Regions from separate parts of the Homo sapiens genome. Here region 2 is linked to region 1. Evidence: promoter capture Hi-C in 16 types of primary human blood cells and fetal thymus (Javierre and others, 2016). All regions are on one chromosome and are shown on one strand. The core of a region is centred on a gene start or on the middle of the fragment in contact, and the rest is flanking DNA. Distances in the headings are between cores, read along the strand shown.

Region 1 (7,134 bases), core at 3,619-6,118:
AGTAGCCCTAAAAAATGTTTTTATAAATTTAATTATCAAGAACATTTGAATAATTTTTAAAAATCAGATTATAAATATTTGAATAATTTTTAAAAATCAGATTCCAAATCACTGATTTCTATCTATGGTTACCATTTCCAGTGTAATGCTGTATGAATTTCTTTTTTTTAATTTAAAAAAAAATTTTTTTATTATACTTTAAATTCTGGGATACATGTGCAGAACGTGCAGGTTTACTACATAGGTATACTGCTGTATGAATTTCAAACCAATTATGTTAGTATGTTTTTCTCCTTTAAAAAGTTAAAAAACAAACTCACAAATAAGCAATAACTAAAATGTCAGAGGTTCAAAAGACACACCAATATATACAGTTGCCTCCCTATACTTATTTTCTTAAATTAATGTGTGCATACCACTTAGATTTAATGTAAGTAAAAATCAGTACTCACAATAAGTAACTAAATCATGGTCGTTTATTTTTACCCAAACAATTAAATTTTAATTTGGGTTTAATTAGGTTGTAGTTAAAATTTAAGTTACACACAGCCTTTTATATACAATTAAAATTATCTTTAAATTTAGGTCTACAATGCTAGAAATGAAACATAATTAATTGGATTACCTTTTGAAAAGGGAGGATGTAAAAGAGTCCAGAAGGGTCTTTTATTTCATCTATCTGGTTGGCAGTAAAAGTTTTAAGACGTGCTGTTTTTGACCGGAACTGACAATTAGGAATAACCCTAGAAACAAGGAAACAAATAATTATCCCCTAAATATTTAGTTCCTAAAAACATTTTTACTTCACCACCACTCTTGATGCCAAAAGATTAGCGTATCCTAAGATTGGTATATCCAGTGTTTCTCATTCTGTCTTAAAATAATACCAAAGGCTGGGAGTGGGGGCTCATGCCTATAATCCCAGCACTTTGGGAGCAGGATGATTGCTTGAGACCAGGAGTTCAAGACCAGCCTAGACAACATAGCCAGAACCTGTCTCTACAAAAATAAAAAATAAGGCTGGGCATGGTGGCTCACGCCTGTAATCCCAGCACTTTGGGAGGCAAAGGCGGATGGATCACTTGAGGTCAGGAGTTCGAGACCAGCCTGGCCAACAGGGTGAAACCCTACCTCTACTAAAAAAAAACACAAAAATTAGCCAGGCATGGTGGCACATGCCTGTAGTCCCAGCCACTAAGGAGGCTGAGGCATGAGAATCACTTGAACCTGAGAGATGGAGGTTGCAGTGGTCTGAGATTGCACCCCTGCACTCCAGCCTTGGTGATGGGGCAAAACTCAGTCTCAAAACTAATAATAAAATAAAACAGAAAGAGAAAAATACGAATCAGGCAGGCATGGTGATGAGCATCTATATTCCTATCTTCTAGAGGAAGGCTGAGGCAGGAGGATTGCTTAAACGCAGGAGTCTGCAGCTGCAATGAACTGTGATCCCACTACTGCATTCCAGCCTGGGTGGACAGAACAAGGCCCTGTCTCTATTTTAAAATAATAATAACACAAAAATGCCCCTCCCCCATTTTTTTTTAAAGTTCAGTATGTAACAAGTTCTATACTGGATCCTTTCTTTCTCTAATAATCCTCAAGAAATCCTTACAGGTAAGTATTGCTTCCGCCACTGCAGAGGCGAAAGCCAGTGCTTTGGTAAAGGTCCTAGTCTTTCTGGCTTTAACACAGAAAGTCTTAATACCATTTGGATTAAAGATTCACAAGTTAGGCCGGGCGCGGTGGCTCATGCCTGTAATCCCAGCACTTTGGGAGGCCGAGACAGGCAGATCACGAGGTCAGGAGATCGAGACCATCCTGGCTAACACGGTGAAACCCTGTCTCTACTAAAAATACAAAAAACTAGCCAGCCTGGTGGCGGGCGCCTGTAGTCCCAGCTACTTGGAAGGCTGAGGCAGGAGAATGGCGTGAACCCGGGAGGCAGAGCTTGCAGTGAGCCAAGATCACGCCACTGCATTCCAGCCTGGACGACAGAGCGAGACTCCGTCTCAAAAAAAAAAAAAAAAAAAAAAAGATTCACAAGTTAAAAATTATGGCCATAAAAATTAAGTTTCCAGCCGGGAGCAGTGGCTCACAGCATGTAATCCCAGCACTTTGGAAGGCGGAGGCGGGCGGATCATGAGGTCAGGAGTTTAAGACCAGCCTGGCCAACATGGTAAAACCCCATCTCTACTAAAAAATATAAAAATTAGCTGGGCATGGTGGTGCATGCCTGTAATCCCACCTACTGGGGAGGCTGAGGCAGGAGAATTGCTTGAACCCAGGAGGCGGAGGTTGCAGTGAGCAGAGATTGTGCCACTGCACTCCAGCCTGGGCGACAGAGCAAGACTCTGTCTCAAAAAAATAAAATAAATTAAGTTCCCATGAAGCCAAAGATCTTCAATCAGCAAGATGCTATAGGGCAGGGATCCCCAACCGCAGGGCTTGTGGTCCGGTACCTGTCTGTGGTCTGTTGGGAACCAAGCCTTCATAGCAAGAGGTGAGCACCAGGGTGGGGAAGGAGGGTGGGGCCGTAAGCATTAACACCTAAATTGCACTTCCTGTCAGATCAGCCATAGCATTAGATTCTCATAGGAGCAGGAACCCTATTTTGAACTGTGCATGCAAGGGATATAGTTTGTGCACTTTTTTTGTGAGAATCTAATACCTGAGAATAGTTTCATTTCAAAACCATCGCCCACACTCATACCCCCAACCACACGTTAAAATTGTCTTCCACGAAACCAGTCCTTGGTGCCAAAAAGGTTGGAGACTGCTGCTGCTACAGGGTACAGAAGTAGCAACTTTTTTTTTTTTTTTTTGAGACCGAGTCTCGCTTTGTCGCCCCAGGCTGGAGTGCAGTGGCGTGATCTCGGCTCACTGCAAGCTCCGCCTCCCAGGCCCACGCCATTCTCCCGCCTCAGCCTCCCAGGTAGCTGGGACTACAGGCGCCTGCCACTACGCCCGGCTAATTTTTGTATTTTTAGTAGAGACAGGGTTTCGCCGTGTTAGCCATGATGCTCTGGATCTCCTAACCTCGTGATCCACCCACCTGGGCCTCTTGCTGCTTGCCATGAGCTTACAATCTGGTTTGGAAGACAAACTAGAGCCATTATTAATTATACACACATGTATGCATACAAATGTGTCTGTATGTGTATACGAGATGACACTGGGATAATACTGTAAAAAAATGTTTTACACCTGCTTATTTCACTTATAATACTGTCAGCATTTTCTCTACATGTTTAAATGTTCTTTGAAGACATAATTTTAAGAAGCTTGAATTTGTTATCAGTCTCAGGTTGTATTTTGGTGTATTTAGCCAATATGCTATTCCTGATTATTTAGCTTCCTTCCCATTTTTTGGCTGCCTGTATACGATGACTATGAATAATACAAAGCACTTCTAATTAATTCTCTAGGTAATAACAGAATTGCTGTGTCATGGCCCGGTGCGGTGGCTCACACCTGTAATCCCAGCACTTTAGGAGGCTGAAGCAGGCAGATCACGAGGTCAGGAATTCCAGACCAGCATGGCCAAAATGGTGAAACCCCCGTCTCTACTAAAAATACAAAACTTAGCCAGGCGTGGTGGTGCGCAACTGTAGTCCCAGCTACTTGGGAGGCTGAGGCATGAGAATGGCTTGAACCCGGGAGGCAGAGGTTGCAGCGAGCCGAGATCGTGCCACTGCACTCCAGCCTGGACAAGAGAGCCAGACTCCCTCTCCAAAAAAAAAAAAAAAAATTGCTTTGTCAGCTGGGTGTAGGGCTCACGCCCCTAATACCAGCACTTTGGGAGGCCAACGCGGGTAGACTGCTTGAGGCCAGGGGCTCGAGACCGGCCTGGCCAACATGATGAAACCCCGTCTCTAACAAAAATACAAAAAATTCGCTGGGAGTGGTGGTGCACGCCTATAATCCCAGCTACTCTGGAGGCTGAGGCGGGAGAATCACTTGAATTCAGGCTGCAGTGAGCTGAGATCGCACCACGGCACTCCAGCCTCGGTGACAATGATAATGATACACATTGCCAAAACGTTTTCCAGAAAGATTGTAACAATTTACATTCCTACTCAGTTTGATTTCCCTCTTTCATTTCTGTTTCAAAAGAAATGAAAAAGAAGGAAAGGAGGGAGGAAGGAAAGAATTTTTTTTAATGCTCTGTTAATTTGATAAAGGAAAGGCGTGTCTTTAGGTTTGCTTATTTATTCAAACATATATTTTATGACTATACATGTTATGAATGCCATTGTATTAACAGTACTTCTGTTTAATTGACCTTACCAACTAGGTCGGCCAGTAGGCCAAAGTCTTCAAAGCCTCTAGATCCTAAGACCGTGATTTTTAGACTTTTGGAGGGTCATAGAACCCTTTGAGAATCTAATGAAACCTATAATCTTGTACCCAGGAAAATCCGCATACACCCAAACACCGTGCCCATAGTTTCCAAAGGCTGATGAACTTTACGGACCCTTCTGTCAGGAACGCATCTCTATAAGCCTATTTTCTTTGGCTATTTCCTGTTACGAAATAAAACATATATCCCACTTCCGGGGCCTCGCAGCCCAAAACTAAAACCAAAATCAATTTCAATTCAAAGCATCACAATCACCCACCCAGCTCCAACCAGGGAATCCCTCTGGCTAAGTCAGGGCCGCGCGGGGGTGTCTGCAGTTCATTGATGTCCGGAGATGAAACGTAGCACATGAAACCACTAGGCGTATATATCTTGTCCCTCGGAGAAAGAAAGTACTTACGACACATTTTCATGGCTGTAACCGATTTTGGCGTTGTAAGCTCCATTATCCAGCACTAAGGTCGTCATCTCACCACCAACCACACCGCAGCCGTAGTTGTTTTCCCTTTCCGACCCCTCTGCTCGAGCTTTTTCCGGTACTCTATGGTTTGTTGGGCGGAGCGTTAGGACGCGCCTCTGGTCACCTTAGCAACGGAGGACGCCGGAAGTCGGAGATGCTAAGCAGCACCGAATGTTAGGGGCTGTGCTTCCAAACTTAACCTGTTTATGTGGTGGCGAGATTTGACTACTATGTGCTTTCTCGCTCATTTCGTATTTGTTTTTAACTACGCAGATTAATTCGCGCAAGTTTTTTCTAATCCTGTAGAGAACCGGCTGCGTGTGTGTGTGTGTGTGTGTGTGTGTGTGTGTCTTCCAATCGCATTCTTCAGACGGTGACATTCTTTGAAGAAAAAAGTGCAAAACTTGCTCTTGGACTCACATTCATACTCTCCTCTTCCCCAGCCCACTTGCTCTTCAGGACGAAGCTGAGTGAGTCTTTCTCATCCAAAAAAGGCTTTTGGGCCGGACGCGGTGGCTCACGCCTGTAATCCCAGCACTTTAGGAGACCAAGGCAAGCAGATCACTTGAGGTCAGGAGCTTGAGACCAGCCTGACCAACACGGCGAAACCCCGTCTCTATTAAAAATACAAAAAGTAGCCGGGCGAGGTGGCGGGCGCCTGTAATCCCAAGTACTCGGGAGGCTGAGGCGGGAGAATTGCTTGAACCGGGGAGGCGGAGGTTGCAGTGAGCCGAGATGGCTCCACTACACTCCAGCCTGGGCGACAGAGCGAGACTCCGGCAGGGCGGGGACTTGGCAGGTGCGGGAGGCAGGACCTGGCTTCCGGGGCGTCGCGGGGGCAACGGCCAGCGGGCGGGGGCAAGGGCCAGCGGGCTAGGACAACTGCCAACGGGCTTGGAGGGGGGCGTTCTACAAATTCCAGGCCACTTTGAGCGCCTGAGAGAGGAGCGGGGCGGCGGGAAGGGGGCACCGCGGGGGCAGGGAGCGCAGCAGCCGCAGCGCGAAGGCGCGGGGGCCGGGGAACAAACGGTTGGCGCGCAGGCAGCCATACCGGGGCCGGAACCCGGGCAGAGGAGGGCAGCGACGGCGATGGGGAGGCTGCAGAGCCCGGGGCGGGTACCGCGCGGGAACCAGCGCGACTGCGTGGCTACCGCAGCCGTCGGTTCGTGTTGGACGGGCGCCGCTGCTGCCTCTGCTACTTCAAGAACCCCCACGACCCGCTGCCCCTCGGCCACCTGGACATAGCAGAAGCCTGCTTCAGCTACCAGCGCGCCGACGAGGCGGCGGAGCAGCCTGCGCACTTCCAGGTGCGCAGCGCGGGAGCCGCCACGGTGCTTGAGGTGGGAACTCGCGCCCTGCAAGCGCCTGGGCCCTTCTGTCGGCGCTCCTTGCCTCCCCTGGGGGCCTGCCCCATCCACCCTCCTTTCTCCAAGGCCTCCTCGCACCCTGCCAACGTCGGCCTGCCTTTCCCCACTTCTCCACATCCCGTCCTCGTTCCTATCTCCTCCCCTCCACCTGGGCTTAGGCCCGGGTGGCTGGGGCTACCCAGCCCAGTCTCCTTCCTCAGACACTTTGACCCATTATCTCCCTCTGCTCCTTCCCTCTGACCCCTCTCTAGTGTCTTCTCACCCCCAGCATCCCGTGGATGTCCGGTGCAGCCCTCCCAAGCATTCATAACCGTAGGCTTCTGCCCCAGGGGCCTCCTTTAGAACTCTGCTAGGACCTTGGTACATCAGTTAACCGCTCTGCCCTTCAGCGTCCTCTAAAATGAGATAGCAGTAGTATCTATATCATGGGGTGTTGAGATTAAACTAATTATACTCTAAACTGCTCAGTAAATGTTAGTACATTTATTTTATTTTTATTTATTTGTTCTTTTTGCCATAGGATCTCGCTCTGTTGTGCAGACTGAAGTGCAGTGGTGTGATTTCAGCTAACTGCAGCCTCATGCCTGGGCTCAAGTGATCCTCCCACCTGAGCCTCCCACCTGAGCCTCCCAAGTATCCGGGACCACAGGTGCAGGCCCACGCCTGGCTAATTTAAAAAATGGTTTTTGTGTGTGTGTGTGTGTGTGTGTGTGTGTGTGTGTGTGTGTGTGTGTGTAGATGGGGGTCTCGCTATGTTGCTCAGGCTAGTCTCGAACTCCTGGGCTCAAACCATCCTCCCCACCCATCTTCCTGGGATTCCAGACGTGAGCCACAGTGCATTTAGCACTATAGACAAAAAGAGTCAGAAATGGCAGGGCCCTTAGAGATATTCCACTACATTTCCTCCGAGAGTGGGCAGGGATGCTCCAGCTAAGGTCACACAG
Region 2 (6,291 bases), core at 3,070-5,569, about 20 Mb after region 1:
ATGGTCATCATTAAAAAGTCAGGAAACAGGCCGGGCGCGGTGGCTCATGCCTGTAATCCCAGCACTTTGGGAGGCCAAGGCAGGCGGATCACGAGGTCAGGAGATCAAGACCATCCTGGCTAACACGGTGAAACCCCGCCTATACTAAAAATACGAAAAAAAAAAAAAAATTAGCCAGGCGTGGTGCCCGGTGCCTGTAGTCCCAGCTACTTGGGAGGCTGAGGCAGGAGAATGACGTGAACCCGGGAGGTGGAGTCTGCAGTGACCGGAGATGGTGCCATTGCACTCCAGCCTGGGCGACAGAGTAAGACTCCATCTCAAAAAAAAAAAAAAAAAAAAAGTCAGGAAACAACAGATGCTGCAGAGGATGTGGAGAATAGGAACGCTTTTACACTGTTGGTGGGAGTGTAAATTAGTTCAGCCATTGCGGAAGACAGTGTGGTGATTCCTCAAGGATCTAGAACTAGAAATAGCATTTGACCCAGCGATCCCATTACTGGGTATACACCCAAAGGATTATAAATCATGCTACTATAAAGACACATGCACACGTATGTTTATTGTGGCACTATTCACAATAGCAAAGACTTAGAACCAACCCAAATGTCCATCAGTGATAGACTGGATTAAGAAAATGTGGCATATATACACCATGGAATACTATGCAGCCATAAAAAAGGATGCAGGGACATGGATGAAGCTGGAAACCATCATTCTCAGCAAACTATCACAAGGACAGAAAACCAAACACCACATGTTCTCACTCATAGGTGGGAATTGAACAATAAGAACACTTGGACACAGGGCAGGGAACATCACACACTGGGGCCTGTTGGGGGTTGGGGGACTGGGGGAGGGATAGCATTAGGAGAAATACCTAATGTAAATGCTGAGTTGATGGGTGCAGCAAACCAACATGGCACATGTATACCTATGTAACAAACCTGCACGTTGTGCACGTGTACCCTAGAACTTAAAAGTATAATAAAAAAAAAGAAAGAAAACATGGATATGGAAGCCATGAATATAAATGACTCTTTATCAGGAGTACTTTTTTGTGAATTGGAGAACAAACATTAGAGTTGTATATAAGGTCAATGGAATATTTTTTGTGTGAGCTATTTATTGGTTTAATTTTAGTATTTCTCAACAGGGGAGTTATTAGCATTTTGGGAAGGGTACTTAGTTGTTGTTTGGAAAATTCCCACACATCACAAGTTATTTATTACTCACTTCCTCACTAAACGACAGTAGTGTTCCACAATCATTTTGATAATCAAAAACACCTCACCCACATGTCCAAATATCTCTGGAGTAATGGCATTGACTCTATTAGAGAATCACAACACAGTCTCCCCACAATCCATTCTTTTTCTCCCTCAATATTTCATTGTAAAAAATATCAAACAGCAAAGCTGAAAAAATAGTAACAGACACTTGGATACCTGTTACCTAAGTTCAGAAATTAAAATCTTGCCAAACTTGCACTGTCTACTTACATGCATTTGTATGTATTTATTTTTTATTTCATGAAATCATTTGAAAGGAAGTTGCAACATCATATTTAACATACTCATCTCCTTAAATTAAGGATACATTCCTACATAATCACATTATTACATCTTAGAACAGAAATAACAAAAATTCCTTAATATCATCTAAAACACAATCCATATTCAATTTTTCCAATAATCAATTACATACAACTTTTTTCCAAACCGGAACTTAATCAAAGTTTACAAGCTTAATTAGTCATTATGATTTTCAGTATCTTTTAATCTAGAACATTTTTATTTAAAATTTTTTATAACACTGACTTTTTAAAAGAAACCAGGCCAGTGCCCTAGAGATTATCCTACATTTCAGGTTTGTTTGATTAAGTATGTGTGGTATCATTTAATATGTTCTTCTATCTCCCATGTTTCTAGTAAAGTGATATTTGATCTAAAACACCTGGTTAAACTCAGGCTAAAATTTAGGTAATGCTTAGGCACATAATGGAGGTTGCTCTACTATTAATGCTGCTATGCTTGATCATGGAATTGAATCTTTGGCCAGTATATATTGTTGATTGCAGGGAATGAGTGTTTACATTGTTATAGTTTTAGCACTAGTACATACAGAGTACCAATAGGGTACTCATAAATACCGGCTTAATGAATGGTGAATAAATGAATGATTTAAACTGATGTTAAGTGATAGCTAACAAAACTGAGAGCTGGGTTTTGACACATATTTTCTAGAATCCTTGGTTCTAGATCTAGCTGAGGAAACAAATTGAGTGTTTATACACTCAATTACTGTTATAGTTTTTTTTTTTTTTTTTTTTTGAGACGTCTCACTCTGTCGCCAGGCTGGAGTGCAGTGGCACAATCTCGGCTCACTGCAACCTCCACCTCCCAGGTTCAAGCGATTCTCCTGCCTCTGCCTCCCAAGTAGCTGGGACACCAGGCACATGCCACCACGCCCAGCTAATTTTTGTATTTTTAGTAGAGACGGGGTTTCACCATTGTTGGCCAGGTTGGTCTCGATCTCTTTACTTCGCGATCCACCTGCCTCAGCCTCCCAAAGTGCTGGGATTACAGGCATGAGCCACCACGGCCAGCCACTGTTGTAGTTTTAAATCATATATTTTATAAGGAGCACATAATTTTCTGTTCACTTGAGTGGACCCCTTCCAAGGCCCTGAAGTTAATTATTTGTAATTTTAAATTCTTTTTCTTGAAGAAGAATCTCTAAACTGTAATAATATCAGGTTCCAGAAAACCTGGATACACCCTCAGCTCAGATCTTTCCTGGTTAAATCCGTCTCTTCTCTTCCCCCACCCTTCACTGCTAGTAACTTCAGAAATTGTTTTTCGCTCTCTTTAGCCCAATTTTTTTCTTCACTACATTTAGCGGTATCTGAATTTATTCATTTAAAATGTATTCATTTTCTGTCCCTCTTTACTAGAATGTAAGCTCATTGATGGCAGGTACTTCATTTGTTTCATTTGCTCCTGTGACCCCAGAACCCAGAATAATGATTCACAAAGAATAGGTGCCAATCAATACATTTTCAATGACTGACCTCGGATCCACCAAACTGCTACATTTCAGCCATGTTTGTGGCACAGCTATGTTTGGCTACTGGGAGTCCCAGGCTTATGTTCCAGCCTCCATGAAGCAGCCATTCATTTTGAGATCCTGTCACATTCTGGCTACTTCCAGAGATCTGTGAGCAAATCCCTGCTGTTCAAGAGACCAACAGACTTCTCTCTCATTCTTTTGAGCCTTGGTGTCACTTATTATTCTCAGTGAAATCCTTCTTTCCCATGGAAGCACCCAAAGATGGCTTGGGTGAACCCCTCTGCTTGGTTCCACCCTAAGTAAAAATAACATTCCATGGAGTTATGGTGAAAATTTTTGTAAAGTGAAAATAAAGGCAAATTTAGAAAACAGTGCTATTTTTATTGATTTATAATGCTATGCAAATAGAACTTAAATAAGTTTCTAGCAACCTCATATACTAATTCCAATCAGATCACTAGCCCTAAATTCTTATTAAATAGAAATTGGTGGGTGGACATTTCAAGTAGGAGGGAAAATGTTTTGAAAGCAACTTCTGCTTTCTTCCTTGCCACAAACCTGTCCTGAGGCAAGGAAGCAGAGTTGCTATCAGCTTAAATAAGGGAAGGAAAAGGCAAATACAAGAACACAAATAAAATCTCAAATTTTTTTCTCTCTCACATACATTATTCATTTAATCTTTAAGACAACCACATGAAGTTGATATTCCCACCTGTCAAAATTGAGCACGGTCAGCATGTTTTGGTTCTCATGAATACCTTGTTTTTGCACTCTGGTCTGTGAAGGAATTTTAAAGCTTTTCCTAGGATTTGATTTGAAGGACAATTGAATGGATCCCTCAACTAAATATTAGTGATCCAAGATAGAACTCATGCACCTAAACTTGCCTTCCAGATATTGATCTTGTAATTTATTCTTCTAATTTCAGTGCCATGGAGAATGACTCTTATTTCTGAAATTCCTTCAGCACACAGATATTTTCATACAAATTGGCCTTCCTGCCAATGCCTTGCCTTGACACCTTGAGTTGGGGGTGCCACTAAGGCCTATCCTATAACCTTCACTTAATTAATCGTAATTATTATTACACATACTAATTAAAGTCAGTCAGTTTCCTAAAGTGTAGGACATGTAGACTGGTGGTACATGAGGTAATGTTATAAGGTAGATGTAACATTAAAACAACAGTGAAGCACTTAGCACAATATTCTTTTTTCACTACCTTTTAATCTTTCCGATTATGCTAAACTGAAAAATCTTAGGTTGATGCTCACATGTCCAACCCTTACCAATATCCCTTTTTTAACAAATTGAGAGCACAGCTTGGGCTCAGACCCTTGACAGACAACCTAACTAATGTTTTGTTTTCATTGTATTTGCTTTAACAGTCTTCTTTATGTCAAGTGGAAACGTTTTTCACTTACCAAAGCAACATAATGTTGCTTTAAAATAAATTTGTCTTAAAAAGGTTAAAGAAAACATTAAGCAAATACTAGTATTTGCGGTTCTTGAATTTGGCAATAAAACTGATAAAGTTTGGGAAACATTAATTCATATGAAAGGGGCATGTGATGTTCTGTCACATGATACAGGTTGGGAGTCATGTGCAATGGAGGTGAGTTATCTCTTTAGCAGTATAACTGCACTTTGGATTGTTGCCAGACACTCATCTGAGTCCTAGTTTTGGGGAACAAAAGAAGCTTTATGAGCATATTAGCCAGTACTTGTACTGTGATAGGGTTAGTTTCTTGAAATGGAGTCAGATGTGGCAGAAAATTTACCCTAAAGTAAATTAGAAACTCACCTTGTAATCCAGAGGCAAGGCAAAGATTAGATGCTATGATCTAGAAATCAGGATTGATCTAGCAATGGAGTCTGAAGCAAGTTAGGGTGGTTCCATGTTGGTTCTGGTCAACTCCCTGGGTAGGACTAAATAAATTATGATGTGAATGGATTGTAAACTTTTCTTCAAGTTCTTTTTTTTTTTCTTTTTGAGACAGAGTCTTGCTCTGTCACCCAGGCTGGAATGCAGTGGCACAATCTTGGCTCACTGCAACCTCCGCCTTCTGGTTCAAGTAATTCTCATGTATTCTCGGGTTCAGCCTCCCGAGTAGCTGAGATTACAGGCACGTGCCACCACGCCCAGCTAATTTTTGTATTTTTAGTAGAGACGGGGGTTTTGCCATGTTGGCCAGGCTGGTCTCGAACTACTAACCTCAGGTGATCTGCCCACGTGGGCCTCCCAAAGCCCTGGGATTACAGGCATGAGCCACCGTGCCCAGCCTTTTCTTCAGGTTCTTAAATAAAACATTGGAAAGAAATTATTATGCAATGGAAGAGAGTTTGGCCCAGGTGTAGAATACAGGAGACAGAAACAAGGTCCTTGTTGACTGTTCTATTCTCAAGTGTATAAATGTAAATTAGTATCTCAGGTTTAAATTAGGGATAAAGAGAACATAGATATATCAAAGTATTTATTAATATCTTATGTACATTTTTAACAAAGAGATTATAATAGCAGAAACAAATCTAAGCTGTGCATGTCAGCATTTCAAATATGTTTATAATTTAAATTAAGTTGATCATAATTAGCAAGCAAATTAATGGTAAGGAATGTCAGTAGTGTGATTAAACTTTGAAAAAGATATACACAGATCTCATTCTGACAATCTTGTGCATGTAATAAATAAAACCCCCAGCCAGGTACAGTGGCTCAAGCCTGTAATCCCAACACTTTAAGAAGCCAAGGCAGAGGATCACTTGAGCCCAGGAGTTTGAGACCAGCCTGGACAACATAGGTAGACCCCATCTTTACAAAACTTAAAAAATAAATTAGCTAAGCCTGGTGGTGCACGCGCCTGTAGTCTCAGCTACTTGGGAGGCTGAGATCATGCCTCTGCACTGCAGCCTGAGCGATAGAGTGAGACCCTGTCTCAGAAACAAAAACCTCCAATATGATTGATTTGGTGCAGCCAAAAATATATTTTTATATATACATATATGCAAATTAGTAAGTATAGTTTTATTTGTACTTCTATTTTAAGGCTTAATTTGCTTTAAAGGAGCTAAAATGTATCCTCACATCCCAATCTGTTTAGAAGCCATTAGGAAGTGAAAATATTTGCATTTTTTCCATTTGTTCTGCTTAGACAAATATGTAATAAAAGCATGTGTGTGTGTGTGTGTGTCTTTTTTTTTTTTTTTTGGTAAAGATAGGGTCTA

The links. Contacts are between HindIII fragments. The CHiCAGO score rates a contact against its expected background, and 5 or more counts as called.
Region 2: a contact is called between a fragment that was not itself captured here and the fragment with the promoter of ACTR6 in region 1, in 1 of 17 cell types (non-activated CD4 T cells). The highest score is 5.3, in non-activated CD4 T cells.

The regions. Positions count from the first base shown.
Region 1 is chr12:100,198,549-100,205,682 of GRCh38, reverse strand. It overlaps ACTR6 (actin related protein 6), which reads right to left and starts at 4,868. Exons shown (of 11, transcript NM_022496.5): 1 at 4,764-4,868; 2 at 626-743; 3 at 1-7. The coding sequence starts at 4,831. RefSeq lists enhancers at 2,696-2,755, 2,387-3,072, 3,073-3,760, 4,605-4,804, 4,778-5,072 and a silencer at 5,565-5,924. The HindIII fragment of the contact is 11,223 bases long and covers 3,287-7,134 here.
Region 2 is chr12:79,937,435-79,943,725 of GRCh38, reverse strand. It overlaps PPP1R12A-AS1 (PPP1R12A antisense RNA 1), which reads right to left. Exons shown (of 2, transcript NR_146535.1): 2 at 2,331-3,364. Among named protein-coding and RNA genes, the nearest start is that of PPP1R12A-AS1, 5.3 kb to the right of the region's middle. The HindIII fragment of the contact is 904 bases long and covers 3,868-4,771 here.